Linked DNA regions of Homo sapiens: region 1 is linked to region 2. Evidence: promoter capture Hi-C in human tissues and cell types (Jung and others, 2019). All regions are on one chromosome and are shown on one strand. Each heading gives the region's core, a stretch centred on a gene start or on the middle of the fragment in contact. The rest is flanking DNA. Distances are from core to core; before and after follow the strand shown. Region 1 has its middle 17 kb from the start of WFS1. Region 2 holds the start of S100P (S100 calcium binding protein P).

Region 1 (2,755 bases), core at 179-2,678, 440 kb after region 2:
TAGTGTGCAAACGCATCTCTTGGAGATAGTGTTACATTGCAGATTCTATGTCAGTAGGGCTTAGGGGCTGCAATCTTGCTGCTCAAAGTGCCATCTGTGGACCAGTGGTGCCAGCATCACCAAGGATGAGCTAGAAATGCAATCTTGGGCCCTGCCCTGGACCTGCCCATGGGAATGTGCATGTTAACCCAACCCCCATCTGATTCCTGAGCACAGTCACATTTGAGTCCTGTGCTCTAAAGTGACAGAGTTCAGACTTTGAGAGTCTGAATGAGGCAAGGTAAGGATTTTCATAGCTCTGAGAGAGGGTTCTCCTGAGAGGGGACAGACATGGCGTTTGCACGGACTCACACGCTGTGGTATGAGACACATGATCACACTCACTCATTTCTCTCATAAATCTTCACTTCCTTAGAACCTACCCTCCCGTTAGACACTAGCTGTGTCTTCTTCAGCCTGACGGTCCTCTCCGGAAGGTGCGCGTCTGTCTCTCAGCCCAATTCAAAGAGGTGGGAGAGGCGGCCACAGCCTCTGTCGGCCTGCTGGGCACCTGGGGCTATAGAAGAGGGACCGAGGCTCAGCGAGATTAAGTGACCACATCCCACAGCTACTATGGCTGCTGCAGGATTTGAATTTAGGACGATCTCGCTGGGCCCTACTCCCAGCGAGACAAATTAACACAAAGCCCCAGGGAGACAAATTAACCCAAACCCCTGGAAGAATTTTAAAAGCAGAAGCTCAAGCCCCCCACCCCAACACAGATTTTGATTCCGTTGGTCTGGGTGAGGCTACCCAGAAGGCCCTGCTGGGTGGCTTGGGGGCCTGTGCAGAAGGCCAGGTGCACTGCTCCATGATGGCAAAACCAGCCCAGCTCCCTGCTCTCTTGCAAGGGCTCAGCATCTGGTACCAGAGCAGGAGATGCTCACAAGTGAGAATTTCTGTAGGGGTCTACAAAGCAGGTGCTTTCAAAAACAGTGCTCAAAGAAAGTGGGAATTGAGAGGCAAACGAGGGTGTTTCTACCTGGGGTGCAGGAAGGAGCAGGCACGTGGCATTTGAGCTTAGCTTTCGTGAACATATAGGCGTTCTCCGAACACAGCTTGCAGGGAGGGGCTCAGGTAGATGGAATGGCATCTGCAGGGGTTCAGGTTTACGGAAACGGGTCACCTCCCATGGTCTCCCCACTTCCTCCCCTGTCTGCCCTCCAGGCTCACCGGAGCAGCCAGTGATGTCTGGGCTCATCAGTCCTTGGACAAAGCCCTCCAGGAGCTCTGTCTTCTCAATGTAAAAGCCAAAGTCCTTCCAATGCCCCCAAGGCCTTGCGTGGCCTGGCGGTGTCACCCGTGGGCCCCATCTCCCACCTCCACTGTTTTTTTGCTCACTGGCCTCAAGCTGGCCTTGCTGGTCCTGGAACATGCTGAGCCTACTCCTGCCTCAGGTCCTTACACTTGCTGTTCCCTCTGCCTGGATGCTACACAGCCACGCCCAGAGTTCATGATCCCAACACATGTGCCACCTTCTCAGACACCCTCCCTGGCCACCCTAGGGGACACTGCAGCCCTCCCATCCCGTCCCCCTTCCTTCCTCCCTGCTGGGTGCCATAAGCTTAGCTGTTGATTTCTTCGCCTGCCTCCCATTAGAACATGAGTCCAAAGAGGGAGGGCTCCGTTTGCTCACCATTGCCCCCGAGTGCCTAGAGCACTGCCTGGCACCCGGCAGGGGCTCTATAAATAGAGATGGAAAGAGGGAGGTGGGCGGGCATGCGTGGGCTTAGGTGGGCCCAGCAAGAGATGCCCTTGGGCAGGACAGCTTGGTGTGCATGGCCAAGGAGGGTGGGTCCCAAGCCAAAGGCATTGAACACCAGGCTGAGGAGTGAGGATGCCACCTGCTGTATCACCCAGGCAATAGGGAGCCTCTAAAGGCTTTTTCTTTCCCCCAAGATGAAGTCTTGCTCTTGTCGCCCAGGCTGGAGGGCAGTGGTGGGATCTCAGCTCACTGCAACCTCTGCCTCCTGGGTTCAAGCGATTTTCCTGCCTCCCGAGTAGCTGGGATTACAGGTGGGCACCACCACGCCTGGCTAATTTTTGTATTTTTAGTAGAGATGGGGTTTCACCATATTGGCCAGGCTGGTCTCGAACTCCTGGCCTTGTGATCCGCACGCCTCGGCCTCCCAAAGTGCTGAGATTACAGGCTTGAGCCACTGTGCCCGGCCCCTAGAGGCTTTAAGCAGGGGAGTGGCCTGGTCAGAGCCATGCTCTGGGATGGTATGGCCTACCACTGTGGCCCAGCAGGCTTGAGGGTCCCAGTTAGTGCCCCTGGAGCCAAGCAGAGGACTGGACAGGATCCAGCGTGGGGAGGGAGCCCTCCCTGCTCTTGTTACCTTGGCAGAAACCCCGAGAACACTAGGTCCGTGGGCAGCCCCTGCAGGCCTGTCCTGCTCTGCTGGCCAAGGCTTGGAGCTCTGCCTGGGGCAGGAGGTGCCCATGAGAATGCCAGGGAGTGCGAGCTCCCCCAGAGACCCAGGCAACAAGCACCCACTCGACTCCAGGGCTCAGAGCCCTCGCTAGGATGCCGTCAGCATTTGGGCTGCTGCCTTTTGCACTCCAATACTTGAGTTCAAGTCCTGGCTCCACCACTGACTCCGGGCTACAGGGACCTGGGCTATAGCCATGTCCTCCTCTGAACCTTGGTTTCCCCATCTGTGAAATGGCTGGATTTGTGCCCTCAGCTCTGCCCTCTCTTACCTCGCACCTCCCT
Region 2 (2,835 bases), core at 140-2,639:
AGGCCAGGTGTCGGGGCTCACGCCTGTAATCACAGCACTTTGAGATGTCGAGGCTGACGCATTGCCTGAGCACAGGAGTTTGAGACCAGCCTGGGCAACATGGTGAGACCTTGTCTCTAAAAAAAATACAAAAATTAACCGGGTATGGTGACATGCACCTGTAGTCCCAGCTACTCGGTAGGCTGAGGTGGGAGGATCACCTGAGCCCAGGGAGGTCGAGGCTGCAGTGAGCCGTGATCCTGCCACTGCACTCCAGCCTGGGTGACAGAGTGACATCTTGTCTCAAAAAAAAAAAAAAAGAAAAGAAAAGAAAATAGAAGCAATATTCTGAAGTGTTTCATGTCTTTGAAGTGATTCTAGGGCTGAAAATTTCAGGCTTTCATTTTTGATTATCAGCATCTATGTGGGTTAGCCCCTTAGCAGGTAGGCAGAGTCTGGTGGGGCCCGAAGGGGAGGGGAAGGAAGGAAGAAAGTGGGGGAGTGAGAAAGAAGGAGAGGACAGGGGTCAAAGGGAAGGGGAAATGGAGAGGGTACGGCTTCTGTTCAGCCCAGCCGGAGGCTGCCCCGGGCGGAAGGAAGCTGGTCCTGGCCGCCCTGAGGGGCCTTCTGTGAGGCTCAGGCCGGTGGCTCCTCCCTGGCAGGGAGCCCAAGGGAGGTCCACAGCTCTGCGCAGACAGGTGCCAGGATGGAGCCTCCTCCCGTCCTTCCTGCCAGACCCACTAATACCAGGCAACAAGGGGCCTGGGAATGGGAGCAGGGAAAGCGGGCAAGTGGGAGGCAGAGCTGGGGCGTTTATGGCCGGCAGCCTTGGAGGACAGCCCCGAGGGCTCAAGGGCTTGGCAAGCTTGGCAAACTTGCAAATGGCAGCCCTGGATTGCATTCCGCCCCTGCCCCCACTGCACAGGTTTGAGTCCCACTCTCCCACCAGGCCTGTCACAAATACACTGGGGTCAACCCCATGTTTCAAGGATCAAGCTGACCACACCCTCTCCCTGCTCAGATGCTCCCGCCTCCCCTGCCTTTATGCCAGGGTGGGTCCGTTCCTTGGCTGGGCTTCCAGGGCATTTCAGGATCTGTCCCTCTTGCCTCTGAGCCCCTTGACCGCCGACCCCACCGCAGCTCTCAGCCCTCTGCCTGCCACGCCTTCCCCTTCTTCCCCAGCCCCCGCTGAGTCCAGCACTGCCGGCCTGGCTCACCTGCAGGAAGCCTGGTAGCTCCTTCTCCATCAGCACCTTGAGCTCCCCCTTGGTCAGGGTCTGCGTGCTGCCCTCGCTGCCCGAATATCGGGAAAAGACGTCTATGATCATGCCCATGGCTGTCTCTAGTTCCGTCATGGTGCTAGATTCAGACCCACCTTCCTCCTGGGGGCTGGCAGGGCCGAGAAAATGTCCCACTGGCAGCCTCTTGGTGCTTTATAAGGCAGCCTCATATTGACACAGAGGGTGGGACAGTGGGGTTGGGACATTCAGGAAGTCCTGCCCCTCCCCATTCATGTGCTCAGTTCTGATGAAATGCATCGTTGTGATGACGTTTCTGGAACCTTTCCCCCAGCCAAGGCCCAGGGTGTGGGCTGCCTCCAGGCATCCACATTTTACAGTGTTCACCTGTGTCTCGGCGCCATCACTGAGCCACAGTGGCATCCTCATTCCTGGCCCTCCCTGGGTAAGTGGGCACGGGGTGAGTGTGTGTGGAGTGAGTGGTGACTCCGTGGCCCTTTGTGTCAATATCAGAGCGTGCTGGCACCCAGCGTGCTGACACGAGGAGACATCTGAGAGTGAATTCACATGGGCGTGTTTGTGAACATGGATCTGCCCCATCGTCCCTTTCTTAGAGCACTCTGTGTCCTTCAGAGGCCCAGCTTCCACGTCAATCTCGCTCGCTCCTCCCCTGTGGGGCCAAACAGAAAACTCCCCTTCATCCTCTGGGAGTTTGCTGAAAATCAACGGGCAGAAGGCAGATGAATAGGAGAAGAGCATAACAGATGTATTTGATCATAGCTTATGTGGCACGGCAGCCTTCAAGATGAAGATCCAAAGATCTGGTGGAAACTATCCATAAACACAGTTCAGCGAAGTATGGAAATATGATTGGATACAAAAGTAAGGCTGGATGCTCACAGACCAAGAGGAGAGCCTGGTAGGGCCTGTTGAGTCAGATTCCCTGGGGCCTCTCTGAGCAGCTCTCCTTCCTTCTAGGTGTGGGGCAGGACTCTTTCTGGAATGGAGCTCTTATGACCTACAGTCAAATAAAGCAGGCCAGAGGGTTTCTTTAGGCTGGTTTCTACACAGAAAGGGGAGGGAGTGGAGAACTGGAGTCATATTTCTGGGTTTTATGGCAGGGTTTGGGGAAGCCTCTCAGAGGAGGAGGAGCTGGAGACAGGAGGGTGGGAGCAGGACAGAGAAACTTTTGTTTCTGAGGCTTCCACGTTGGGGTGTTGTTTTTTGAGCCCCGGCACTTACCAAACCCAAATCACCCACAGGGCTTAGACGGCACAAAGGCTCCTGGGACTCTGGGCAGAGTCAGGGACAGTCACACCCCTCCCCGTCTCTATAGCGGAGGTACTCAGAGGGTCTGTGCTTGGGAGGCTGAGCGAGTCCTGGAGAGCATGGAGGTAGGGGCCTGTGTTCACATCCTGCCCCGGTCAAAGTAGGCCCACACTCAAAGGCCTCTCTCTCAGCAGAGATCTTCCAGAGTGTCAGCCTCCAGCAAGTTCCCTAACCTCTCCCAACACAGCCTCCACCAGCACATGGGCCGAGACTCTCCCCACGGGGCTGTGGCTCAACATAGAAAAACCTTGGTGCACGATGGCAGCAGCAGGTCTCACAAGAGCCGGCT

The links. The method cuts DNA at HindIII sites, captures the fragments that hold promoters and counts their contacts. A contact is called where the count stands out against the background at its distance.
Region 1: a fragment that was not itself captured here is called in contact with the fragment with the promoter of S100P in region 2 in 1 of the 25 tissues and cell types used here (dorsolateral prefrontal cortex).

The regions. Positions count from the first base shown.
Region 1 is chr4:6,251,948-6,254,702 of GRCh38, reverse strand. No RefSeq gene overlaps it. Among named protein-coding and RNA genes, the nearest start is that of WFS1, 17 kb to the left of the region's middle. The HindIII fragment of the contact is 7,012 bases long and covers 1-2,755 here.
Region 2 is chr4:6,692,432-6,695,266 of GRCh38, reverse strand. S100P (S100 calcium binding protein P) reads right to left here and starts at 1,389. Exons shown (of 2, transcript NM_005980.3): 1 at 1,197-1,389. The coding sequence starts at 1,334. RefSeq lists enhancers at 386-1,121, 1,122-1,858, 2,168-2,705. The HindIII fragment of the contact is 18,883 bases long and covers 1-2,835 here.